2 separate regions of the Homo sapiens genome follow, and region 1 is linked to region 2. The links are contacts of gene promoters, found by promoter capture Hi-C in human tissues and cell types (Jung and others, 2019). All regions are on one chromosome and are shown on one strand. Each heading gives the region's core, a stretch centred on a gene start or on the middle of the fragment in contact. The rest is flanking DNA. Distances are from core to core; before and after follow the strand shown. Region 1 has its middle 27 kb from the start of CTIF-AS1. Region 2 holds the start of DYM (dymeclin).

What was found. The method cuts DNA at HindIII sites, captures the fragments that hold promoters and counts their contacts. A contact is called where the count stands out against the background at its distance.
Region 1: a contact is called between a fragment that was not itself captured here and the fragment with the promoter of DYM in region 2, in 2 of the 25 tissues and cell types used here (IMR-90 fibroblasts and lymphoblastoid cells).

Annotation. Positions count from the first base shown.
Region 1 is chr18:48,866,319-48,872,152 of GRCh38, reverse strand. No RefSeq gene overlaps it. Among named protein-coding and RNA genes, the nearest start is that of CTIF-AS1, 27 kb to the right of the region's middle. RefSeq lists an enhancer at 3,355-3,464. The HindIII fragment of the contact is 7,300 bases long and covers 1-5,834 here.
Region 2 is chr18:49,458,139-49,464,808 of GRCh38, reverse strand. DYM (dymeclin) reads left to right here and starts at 4,164. Exons shown (of 18, transcript NM_001353214.3): 1 at 4,164-4,411. RefSeq lists a silencer at 4,186-4,765. The HindIII fragment of the contact is 14,393 bases long and covers 1-6,670 here.

The DNA.
Region 1 (5,834 bases), core at 2,292-4,791, 590 kb after region 2:
GTGTTCAGGGTCAGCTGATGGGTGCTTAGTGGGGCGTTTGGTGGGTGACTCTTTGGCTCATTTGTTAGTGCTTCACTGAGGATGGTGAGGCCAGCAACCTAAGTCTCAGCTTCAAAAGTGCTTAGAAGTTCAGCCAAACCCCACACCAACACCTGTCCACTGACCCCAGTCCCAGTGGGTCCTAGCGGGAGAGCAGATAGGCTTTACTGCACGCCCACTGCCCAAGAGAATCAGCAGCAGACAGACCCAGCAAGGCGGGCGAGTCTCGTGGTTAAGAGGGAAGAGAGCCGTAATTTGTGGAGGACTCAAAGCTCATGCACTGTTTCTCCAAACAGTCTAGCAAGATGGGATTGTGCATTCCCATTTTCAGCAGATGAACCGAGGCTCAAAGAAGCCGAGTGAGCTGCCTGGCCTCACTAAACCTCTTCCTACCTCTCTCTGTGGACGTATCTGATTCATCGCTGTGTGGGGGACACCGAGTGTGTGCGTCAGGGTCAGCAGCAGGGCCTTGGCAGCAGAGGGGACCCTGTGAGAATCCTGCCGTCTTTCTAGTGCTGTGACCTGGGCCATGTTGGCCTCTCTCAACCCCAGGCCAAGTCCTCCCCTGTGTAAGATGGAGAAGGTCCCACCTCGGGCGTGGCGTGAGGAGATGAGGGCGCTTAGGTGGGTGCCTGGTTCGAGGCGTGCCCGTGGTGTTAGCTGTACCTCTGTGACCTTGGGCGAGTCCCTTCCCTGTAAGGGCCGCAGGGTCTTCATCTGTAAAACGAGAGGGTGGCTTTAAAGTGCCTTCCACATCCTGGTATCCTGGAGTATTTGGAGGGGCCACTGGGGAAAAGCGATGGAGGAACTTCTGGGGAGGGGCAGCAGGTGCAATTGATGGAAGGAGGTGGCCCCGGCATCCCCACTGCTTCTATAGAACCCAGGAGGGTGAGGGGTCTGTGGGGTCGTGTTCTGACCCATGCCCTGCACCGTGAAGGGGAGATTCCTCCAACACCATGGCTGAGGGGGCCGCAGTGTTGCTGGAACTCATCAAGGGCATAGGGTGTGGGGCTTTGCTCCCTTAGGAAGCGGCCTCCTCCACCGTTGGGCAGTTCCGGTTTCCAGAACATCATCCTTGTGTGGACCCGGCATCTCCCCCAGATCTCTTCTGAGCCTCCGACCAGGCGCCTCAAGCTGAGGGCATCCCTTGACCAGGAATATTTTCCTCGGCTCAGTCTGTCCAGACCGTTCCCTCCCTAACTAAGGGATAGTCCAGAGTTCTGGAAGGAAGGGCCTTCGTGAGGGGAGGCCAGCTGTGCCTGCCCACTGAGGACCTTCAGCCCGTTCTCTGCCATTGCAGACCCCGTGCCGGCCCCACTCCCAGGGGCAGGCGAAGGCTTGGCCACTGAGACACCTGTGTTTCTGGCTCTAGGACGTGGCACCCTCACAGCTAGGCCTCCCAGCTCTCCCTGCACAGAGGCCACCCAGCCTGGGAGGCTTGCAAAGTGCAGCACAAATTCACACACCCCACATCACACACACCCACACACAGCACACACACATACACCACACGCATACCACACTAATTCTCCATTCTCACACCATGTACACACAACGCAACCCTCTCCAACCACACATACCCCGCTCCCTGCGTGCGTGCGTATATACCACATCCCCCACCCCCACACAACACACAACACAACCCTCTCCAACCACACATACCCCGCTCCCTGCACGTGTGCGTATATACCACATCCCGCACCCCACACAACACACAACGCAACCCTCTCCAACCACACATACCCCGCTCCCTGCATGTGTGCGTATATACCACATCCCGCACCCCACACAACACACAACGCAACCCTCTCCAACCACACATACCCCGCTCCCTGCACGTGTGCGTATATACCACATCCCCCACCCCCACACAACACACAACGCAACCCTCTCCAACCACACATACCCCACTCCCTGCATGTGTGCGTATATACTACATCCCGCACCCCACACAACACACAACGCAACCCTCTCCAACCACACATACCTCGCTCCCTGCGTGTGTGCGTATATACCACATCCCGCACCCCACACAACACACAACGCAACCCTCTCCAACCACACATACCCCGCTCCCTGCGTGTGTGCGTATATACCACATCCCGCACCCCCACACAACACAGTCACACTCCACACCCAGAGAGTCTCACATGCAGCGCCCAGGTTGTGTCCTACACAAGGGTGCCCAGCTGTGGGTCTGAGGCAGCTCCCAGGGTTCTGGGGCAGGGCTGGGCACCTGGAGGAAGGGCACCTCCTAACTGGCACGAAGGTGCCCTCCGCACTGGCTAAGACTCTGGCACCCATGACCACAGAGCACTCCCCACCCACCTCCAGGCCTCTCTAGACAGTGAGACATCAGGCCCCTGAGGACCCCCAGCCCTCCCCACTGGAAGGCCCTGCCCGTGCCCCACCCTGTATTCCTCCCTGGCCCTGAGTGCCCTGCCTCGAGTATGTGGCTCCAGGCACAGCTGGCTCTTCCCTCCCCAAGCCCCTCAGTCCCTTAGTACCTGGACCATTCCCTTCATCCCCCACATGCTTATGGGGCACCTGCTGGGGCCAGGCCCTGGCTTAGTGCTGGGGAGACAGAGGGGACGAAGTCACGCTCATCCTCAGCAGGCATCTGCCATCTACACACCAATGGCCATGCCCAGGGAGCAGGACTGTGGCAGAACATCCCTGGCAGCTGTGGGAGCCCCGAGGGGTGATCTGTAACCCTGACTAGGGAGCAGTCAGGGAGAGCTTCCTGAAAGAGGTGGCAGTAGACAGAGGCACGTGCTTTCTAACTTCTGTGACTCACTGCATGCTGAGCTCTGCCCCTTCTCACCAGAAAGGGAGGCCATGGTGTGGATCAGAGACAGCCCATCTGCAGACCTGTGATCAGGAACAGTGAACCTCTGTGTTGCAGTTCCTGAGATTTGGGGCTTGTTAGTCACACAGTGACATGGCAGTAGCTAGGCAACACGGACCCTGAGCCCCCTTTCCAATCTGGCGACACACCTCATGAGTTACAGTCCCTCCCCACCTGCTCAGCCTCAGCACTTCTCCTTTTCCTCTAAGCTGCACCCGGCTGAGCCTTGCCCTGGCTGAACAGGACTGCACTGATGACGCGCCTGGGCCATGAGCCTCCCTCCCACCCATTTTGTTTGCCTTTGAGATGCCTTTGTGTCGTATGTTCTGCTGGGTCAGCAGGAGATTCAAGAGCCCTGACCTGAGCTCCCTGCACATTTCTGGGAACTGGAGGTGATGGAGTGGGCCGGGTGCCTTGTGTCTGATGTGTAGGTGGCATGATGTCAGGAATGGGGCAGAAAAAGGCTTCCAGGCTCCCGAGACACATTGAGTCCCATTGAGCATAGATGGCTATTAGGGACTTGTCTCTAGCACAGGGAGAAGGAGGCTGTGGCCCCTCTGAGAGGCCTTCTTTCAGTTCAGCTCCTAAGGATGGTCTTCCGGAAGCTCTCTGCATGATCTTTCACTTACCCAAGAAACATCAACATTTGCCCCCGAATGACACAGAATCACACTGGTGGTTAGGCTGACACAGCGTTTACACGGATTTGAAACTCTGTAGGTGTGACTGCTGGCTGCAGAAACTCCACTGAGTGCTGAAACATTCTAAGCCACAAAAAGTAAGATTTTAGAGTGTGCAGAATTGCAAGGGTCTGTGTATGCATACAAGTGTTGTTAAAATTGGCTTCTCACCTGCTTTAATCACACTTTTGTTATTTGGGGGAAATGCTATAGAATAAGTCTCTTTTCACCTTGCTAGCCTGTCTTGGTTCCCACTGGAAGTTTTCTTCTTTTGGCCTAGGTGGGTATTTGGGTTTCACCTGATTTGTTCTGGGAAGGGAGGGGAATGGTGGTCCTTCCTCTCTGGGGCTGGAAAGTGAAGCTTCGTCAAGCCCTGAATGGTCCCCATTGGAAGGCCTGGGCCAGGTGTTGGCTCTCTGTAGCACAGCAGATGCCACAGGCAGGGACCCTGCACCAGGACCTACCCAGAGTTGGGCTAGGCCTATGAGAGGTTGTCTGTTGTCTGGAAATTCCAGCTCCCAGGAGACTGACCATGCCAAGGTGGTTAAGGCATTGTCTCCTTTGCTTATTTCCTTATAGCACCCCCAGCACAAGGTGGGACCCAAGTAGGGGTTCACTTGAAAGACGTGGGCACAGGTGATGAGACTAGGAGACAGAGCATCACCCTTGAACCATCTCTGCTTCAGGTCAGCTGTGGGATCCTGGCCATATTATTATTATTATTATTATTATTATTATTATTATTATTATTATTATTATTATTTGAGATTAAGTCTCGCTCTGTCACCCAGGGTGGAGTGCAATGGCACGGTCTTGGCTCACTGCAATCTCTGCCTCCTGGGTTTAAGCGATTCTCCTGTCTCAGCCTCTCGAGTAGCTGGGATTACAGGCTGCGCCACCATGCCCGGCTAATTTTTTTGTATTTTTGTAGAGATGGGGTTTCACCATGTTGGCCAGGCTGGTCTTGAACTACTGACCTCAAGTGATCCACCCACCTTGGCCTCCCAAAGTGTTGGGATTACAGGCGTGAGCCACCATGCCTGGCCTCCTGGCCATATTATTTATTATTTTTTTTTAGAGACAGGTCTTGCTCTGTCACCCAGCCTGGAGTGCAGTGGTGCGACCACAGCTCACTGCAGCCTTGATTTCCTGGGCTCGAGTGATCCTCCTGCCTCAGCCCCCTGAGTAGCTGGGACTACAGGTGTGTGCCATCACGACCAGCTAGTTAAAAATATATATATTTTTTTGTAGAGATGGGGTCTTGTCATGTTGCTCAGGCTGGTCTCAAACTCCTGGGCTCAAGTGATCCTCCTGCCTCAGCTTCACGACGTGCTGGGATTACAGGCTTGAGCCACTGTGCCTGGCCTGGCCATATTGTAAGACTTAATCTGTCACCTGGGACTGATTCCACCCATGGAATGGATGCCCCCATGGGTTGCAGGAGACTCAGGACTCTGCCTGGGAGCCAGGGGATGCCCAGTGAATGGGGAGGCTGAAGATGGAGACCAGTTAGAATTATGGGACACTGAGCAGGAAGCACAGACCTGCACTCCACAGGCCTGGATCAGGGGACTCAGGCACAAAGGTGGCCTGGGTCCTCAGCCTGGTCCCCATACCCACCCACCAGTCCCATCTTAGGACTAAGAAGGCAGCAATTCGAGGCCTGGTCTTTGTGCCTACAGGTCCCATGACATGGGATTGTTACTCTGCTTCTGTGAGCCTGTCTCCCTTCTTTACAATGGTGTCAAAAACATGTCACCTGGCAGCGCTGTCGTAAGGATCGAACATAGTCATATATTTAAAGACTATAAAGCCCCATTCAAACCTATGGGATGGCTCTGTAAGCCTCAGTTTCCCCAGATTTGAAATGGATATAAGCATTGTATTTACTTCTTTCACGGGGCTCTGGTGAGACCGTAACCAGATAATGTGTGCTAAAGGGCTGCAGAGGGGAGAAAGTGCTGTGTGATGAATCGGGCTCTCAGGGGCCAGCCTCCTTAGCGCGGCAAACACAGCTGCTCTGGCTGGCGCTTGGAGCTGTCTGGCTGGCAGCCAGTCCAGGGCAGAGGCAGCTACTGCATCTGCTTCCAGCACGGGCCAACTGCTTCCTTGGAAGACTGCTTTTGAACCACTCCCCCTCCCCAGCCCTGAGTCACCCAGAGATCAGGTGGGCAGCAGAGAAAGGTGGGACTCCCAGCTCAGATGACACTCAGGTAGGGCCAATACACCTGTTAGGCATATACAAAGGGTGCTGCTATGGATGGCAT
Region 2 (6,670 bases), core at 2,915-5,414:
ATCCTGACTGCCCTTCCCTGGACAGGTTCTGTTTGACCTTCATCCCTCCTTGGAGGAGTGGCCAGGTGCTGGCAACTAAGACATGCGAGCTGTCCACCATCTGGATTATGCAGATGAACTAACATTGAAAATGACACGCTACATGCATTACTTAATTTCGTTCTCACAGCACCTTCATGAGGAGAAAACTGAGGCTCAGAGATGTTAAGTAGCTTTCCCCAAATCGTTTAGCTCAGAAATTGTGGAACCAGAATTCAACCCAGATCTGTCTGACTCCAAAGTCTGCTCTTCTTTCTTGGGGAAGTGGAAGCCTGAGTGCTGTTCTTGGAACAGCCTCAAGACAATAATCTGGGGACTGTCTTGGTCCTGCTTGCAGAGGGTCCTTCTGTTACGTATGGGTCCTTTCTGGCCCTTTAGCTTCTACAAAGAAAGTCAGTCCCCCTCCAGCTCTAAAGACACATGAAGTCTGTTTGCAGTCCAGACCTTGCAAACTTGTAGTTATAGAAACCTCAGAGGCCTACCAGGGCTTGAAGGATATTTGGCTCCACTTTACATCTCCATTCTTCTTTTCCTCCTGTTTTTAATGTAACCTGTAATCCTAGCAATTTGGGAGGCTGAGGCAGGTGGATCACCTGAGGTCAGGAGTTCAAGATCAGCCTGGCCAACATGGTGAAACTCCGTCTCTACTAAAAATATAAAAATTAGCTGGGCTAATTTTTAATTAGTGTGGTGGCCCGCGCCTTTATTCCCAGCTACTCAGGAGGCTGAGGCAGGAGAATTGCTTGAACCTGGAAGGCGGAGATTGCAGTGAGCTGAGATTGTGCCATTGCACTCCAGCCTTGGCAACAAGAGTGAAACTCCGTCTCAAAAAAAAAAAGTATTCTGTCCACCACGTGGAATAATGTAATATTTAGTAATAAGAACAGCTGCAAGGTGTAGAGAGTTACCGTATATCCATCACCCAGCTTTCCTTAACGTTAACATTTTATATAACCACAGCATCATTTTGTCAAAACTAGATAATCAGCATTGGTACAATACTGTTAACTAAACTCTAAACTTCATTTAGGTTTCATCAGGCTTTCCACTATTGCCTTTTTCAATTCCAGGATGCAGTCCAGGATATCCTATTGGATTTAGTGGAAGGATTTCATACATTTTCTATTGCTGTTCCTGCACTAACTAGACACTGAAGTTGTCAAGTCAGCCAAAGTTATCATAATACTTTTTTTTTTTTTTTTTTTTTGAGATGCAGTCTCACTCTGTCACCCAGGCTGGAGTGCAGTGGGGCGATCTTAGCTCACTGCACCCTCTGCCTCCCAGGTTCAAGCAATTCTCCTGCCTCAGCCTCCTGAGTAGCTGGGACTGCAGGCCTGCACCACCACAACTGGCTAATTTTTTTTTTTTTTTTTTTTGGATTTTTAGTAGAGACGGGGTTTCACCATGTTGGCCAGGCTGATCTTGAACTCCGGAACTCAGGTGATCCGCCCACCTCGGCCTCCCAAAGTGCTGGGATTTACAGGCTTGAGCTACCACGCCCGGCCATCATACTTCTGCAGGCAGTTTTGAAAGTTGGTGTCCAAGGATAATAATTTGCACATTACATGTACAAAAAAGGTGCATAAGGACTGCTACTCTAACTCAACACTTCCTACGTAGTAAAAAATATTCCTAATCTTATCTTCCGATTTATGATATTTGCCTAGCAACATTATAACATTTGCCTAGGAACACAGGCAAGACTGTTTATTTCAAGTCATCCAAAAATGACCAAAGGGAGACGATGTAAAATTTCACTAATAGGATCCCCTTGAAATAAAATATTTTGCTTCTTAGGTCTATAAAGCCAGTTTTGAGGAGATGCTCACAACTGTTGCTGAGTCAGTCTGGGGAAAGTAGACTGTGTGCCAGGCAATATTAAAAAATATTTTGAGTTAGGTTTTCATGCCTGAGTCTCTTTTTTTATTTTTTATTTTTTTGAGACAGAGTCTGGCTCTGTCACCCAGGCTGGAGTACAGGGGTATGATCTCGGCTCGTGGCAACCTCCACCGTCTGGGTTCAAGTGATTCTCCTGCATCAGCCTCCTGAGTAGTTGGGGCTACAGGCGCATGCCTGGCTAATTTTGTATTTTTCGTAGAGACGGGGTTTCGCCATGATGGGCAGGCTGGTCTCAAACTGCTGACCTCAGGTGATCTGCCTGCTTCGGCCTCCCAAAGTGTTGGGATCACAGGCATGAGTCACCACGCCCAGCCCTGAGTCTCTTTTTGCTGTAATTTTAAAATAAAATTGTACATGTACTTCATATTCCTTGCAGAAAAATTAGAAAACATAGGGAAAAACTAATTTTAACCACACAGGATCTCATTACCCAAAGTTGCAATATTGTTAATATTATTTGTCTTTTTTCCAACAGCACATATACATAGGTATTATAAATATTATAGTAAACATATATTACATATGTTATATTAATATATCATTTAATATATTAATATAAATATTATATTAAGTGGCAAAACCACAATTAGTTTTGCACCAACCTAATATAATTCACTTATGAAAATTTGATACTATATATGTTTCCACTCAGTGTATCATGAAAATGTTTTCAAATAAATATGCATCCATAGCATTCTTTACAATGACTGCATAGTAGTGTCTATGGCTTTTTAGTTAGGTAGTTTGGGGTTTTTTTTTTTTTTTGAGACAGTGTCTCGTTCTGTTGCCCAGGGTAGAGTGCAATGGTGAGATTATGGCTCCCTGAAGCCTCAACCTCCCGGGCTCAAGCGATTTTCCCACATCAGCCTCCCGAGTAGCCGGGACCGAGGGTGTGCCAACCACTCCCAGCTAATTTTTGTATTTTTTGTTGAGACAGTGTATCGCTATGTTGCTCAGGCTGGTCCTTCCGAACTCCTGGGCTCAAGTGATCCTCCCACCTTAGCCTCCCAAAGTATTGGGATTACAGGCATAAGCCACAGGGCCCAGTCTACTTTGGGTTTTAATATGTTTTCCTGTCATAATTCTGCAAGCTCAGTGAATTTACTGGCAGTCTATGCTAGAAAAGAATACCTAATATTTGTATAGTACTTTACAGAGTACACTGGCACATATTGACTATATAATGGGAATAACGGTGCTATCTGTTCCATAGGGTCATTTTGCGAAATAATAGTGCATGGCAAATAGAAAATAATCCATAATGTGAATTGTTATTACTACAGTCATGTCAACATTTCCTGTAATGGCAGAATCATCATCATGCATATATTTTAGGTGAGGAAACTGGCTGAGAGAGGTGAAGTAATTGCTCAAAGACGTCAGTGTGGAAACCTCAGCTCATTTGACTTCAAATTCCATAGTTTTGGCACTATCTCATATTGCTACTCTTTCCCGTGGGACCTGTCCTTTCCGACAACTTTGCAGGCAGGGCTAGCCCTGCCAGCTGCCTCCATCAAAAATTATTTTGCTATTTCTCAATTCTCCAGAATCCCACACAATATTGCTTGACTTTGGGATGGTTATTCAGCTGCAATTAACAGAGGCCTTAATAAGGTTAAGCCGCCAGAACGAGCGGTGTAGCATGAGCGAGGACTCTAGCACCTGGCAGGTGAGGTTGACTCTAGCACCCGGCAGGTGAGGTTTTTGCGCTTCTCTCTCTCTCTCTTTTTTTTTTTTTGAGAAGAGTCGAGCTCTGTCGCAAGGCTGGAGTGCAGTGGCCCGATCTCGACTCACTGCAATCTCCGCCTCTCGGGTTCAAACGATTCTCCTGCCTCAGACAGCTACTTTTTGACTCACTGCAATCTCCGCCTCTCGGGTTCAAACGATTATCCTGTCTCAAACAGCTACTTTTTGTATTTTTAGTGGAGACGGGGTTTCACCATGCTGGCCAGGATGGTCTCGATCTCCTGACCTCGTGATCCGTCCACCTCGGCCTCCTAAAGTGCTGGGATTACAGGCGTGAGCCACCGCGCACGGCTGTTTTTGCGCTTCTCGATTTCGCCACGTGGCTTTGCGGTAGCCCAGGAGGTACTAGGAGGGCGGAGGCACGAATAACACCCAAAGGACTACAGTTTCCAGAAGCCCGCGCGCGCCGCGTGCCACGTGACCACCTGGCTGGCGCGCGCGCCTGGGGGTCTGGTCCCTAGCCGCGTTCTCGGTCGCTTCCCTCTTCTCTCGCCGCCTCCTGGCCTCCGCACCGACGCGGCCCGGGCTGGAGCCGAGCCGGGGCCGAGCTGCAGGCCGGACCGGAGCCGGATCTGTACCCGCTGAGACGTGGAAACATGGAGGCCTGAGCCGGTGTGCGCCACCTGGGCTGCGGCGGCGACAGCGACTTCTCCTGACCCCTCTGCCACCCTCCCATCCGTCCGCGGGTCCGTGGAGCTGGAGCAGATCCCCCAGCCGGCTGAGACAGGTGGGCTGTAGCGCCGCCCCCCTCAGCGCGGCCGGGCCCGAAAGCCTGGCTGTCCCCGGCCTCCTGTCAGAGGGGGTCAGGGGCCACCCTCCGCAACCCGGCCAGCGCCCCGGGGCGGCGGCGAAGGGACCCTCCCTTCCCTGCCCGCGGGCGCCTGGGCCACCCGGAGGGGCTGTGCTGACAGCGGACGGACCTCTGTCCGAGTCCGCTGTTGGGAGTTGGGGGATACCGAAGGCCAAGTCGGTGCTTCCGGAGATGGGGCGGTGTTGGTCTGACAAATGGGCGTGTGATGGGCAGGGTGAGCAATAGCTGTTGGGTTTTTCTTTCTTCTTTTTACATTCATAGTTTATCGAGGTATAACTAACATATCAGAAAATTAACCCTTTAAAAGTACAACTCAGTGGTTTTTAGTATATTCACAGGGTTGAGCAGCCATCACCACCCTTAACTCCAGAGCATTTTTAATCACCGCCCCCCCCGCCCCAAAGAAGCTCGTACCCATTAGCAGTCACTCCTCCTTCTCTCCCCTACACTATTGATCTACTTTCAGTCGCCGTGGATTTGCCTGAGCAATTGTGTTTTGACTGAAAAGTGAAAGGGTGGGTGTTTGTGAACTGGGGGCAGTAGTGGGGTTTGAGGGTATTGGTGTGGTAAAGCTGATTGGATAAAGCTGTTCTCTACTGAACAGGGGTAGAGAAGTGATGGGATGATTGTAATCGGCCAGCAAAGCGGGTACCCAGGATAGACTGATTAGGGGGCACAGATGGAGTGAGTTCCTTGAAAGAGGAGAGGGGAAGTTGGAGAGAGGGGTGTGTAGAGCAAGGGTGATGTGCTGAAGGATGAAAACCTGGAGGGTGGAGGCCGTGGAGAGGAATGTAGCGTCCACCAGAGGAACTCAGGTGCTTAGGCTGATGAGTTGAGGGCTCAAGAGAAGAACGAGGTGGAAGGGAAGAGAATCTATAGGAATGGGTGAATGGTTGTTGCAGAGGATGAAATTTATGAATATATGGATTTCTGGAGTGATTATCCTGCTTTGAAGTTTTATTTTAGATAATCCTCTCAGCAACTTGGAGATAGACCGGACAAGTATGAATATTCCCATTCTGTAAATGAAGAACTAGTCTTTTAGAGGTTAGGTGTCTGCCTTAAGCTCATAAACTGAGTACATAGGGCAAAATGAGTTGGAATAATTGATGAAACTATCAGTCGCAAGTGGATTAAATGGCAGAGAACTGAGTTGGGGCAATGTTAATAGGAAGGAGATTCAGCTATTAAGAAGTCTGTGTTGTTACGACATATAGGTCAAGGAGTTTTTATGTTTTTGCACCTTTTAACCATAGAAAAGTTCACACAGTGAAATAATAAAGGGTACTCCCATGTACCCATTACCCAGCTTCAGCAGTTAACTCATGCCAATTTAATTTCATCTATGTCCCTATGCATTCCTATCCCCACTCACAATTATTTTAAAGCAAATCATAGACATTCAATTTCATCTGTAAATATTTCAATATATATCTGTAGAAGATTGAATTGCTTTTTTTTGTTGGTGGTGGTGGGAGGCAGAGTCTCGCTCTGTCATTCAGGCTGGAGTACAGTGGCGTGATCCCGGCTCACGGCAACGTCTGCCTCCTGGGTTCAAGCAATTCTCCTGCCTCAGCCTCCTGAGTAGCTGGGATTACAGGCACGTGCTACCATGCCTGGCTAATTTTTTGTATTTTTAGTAGAGACGGGGGTCTCATCATGTTGCTCAGGCTGGTCACGAACTCCTGAGTTCAGGCATTTCACCCACCTCAGCCTCTGAAAGTGCTGGGATTACAGGGGTGAGCCACTGCACCTGGCCTGCTCTTTTTAATAGGCCCAGAATACCATTATCACACATAAAAATTAATAGTTTTTAATATCTAGAAAGATTTACTGTACTTTAAAAAAGTGTGGTAATCCATTTGATACAAAGAGGATAAACAGTGCAAACGCTTTTATGTTTGACTCTGAAAAATGTGGCATAATTATCTCCTGATTTTTCCATTAGATCCTGCCATCCTGATTGTTCCTTTTTTTTTTATTAATATGGCTCATTTTTCTACAGAAAGTTTGAAGAATTGTCACTTTGGTAGGCTTTTTAATGAATGGAGGGCAGGAGAGAAATAGAAGTGAAATATGTTACAACATGTACAAATGGCTCTTTCTTATATTGCTCCAAATATTTGGGCAATTTGGTTATGCTTTTCTAGATAATTTCACATATTATTAGAAGTT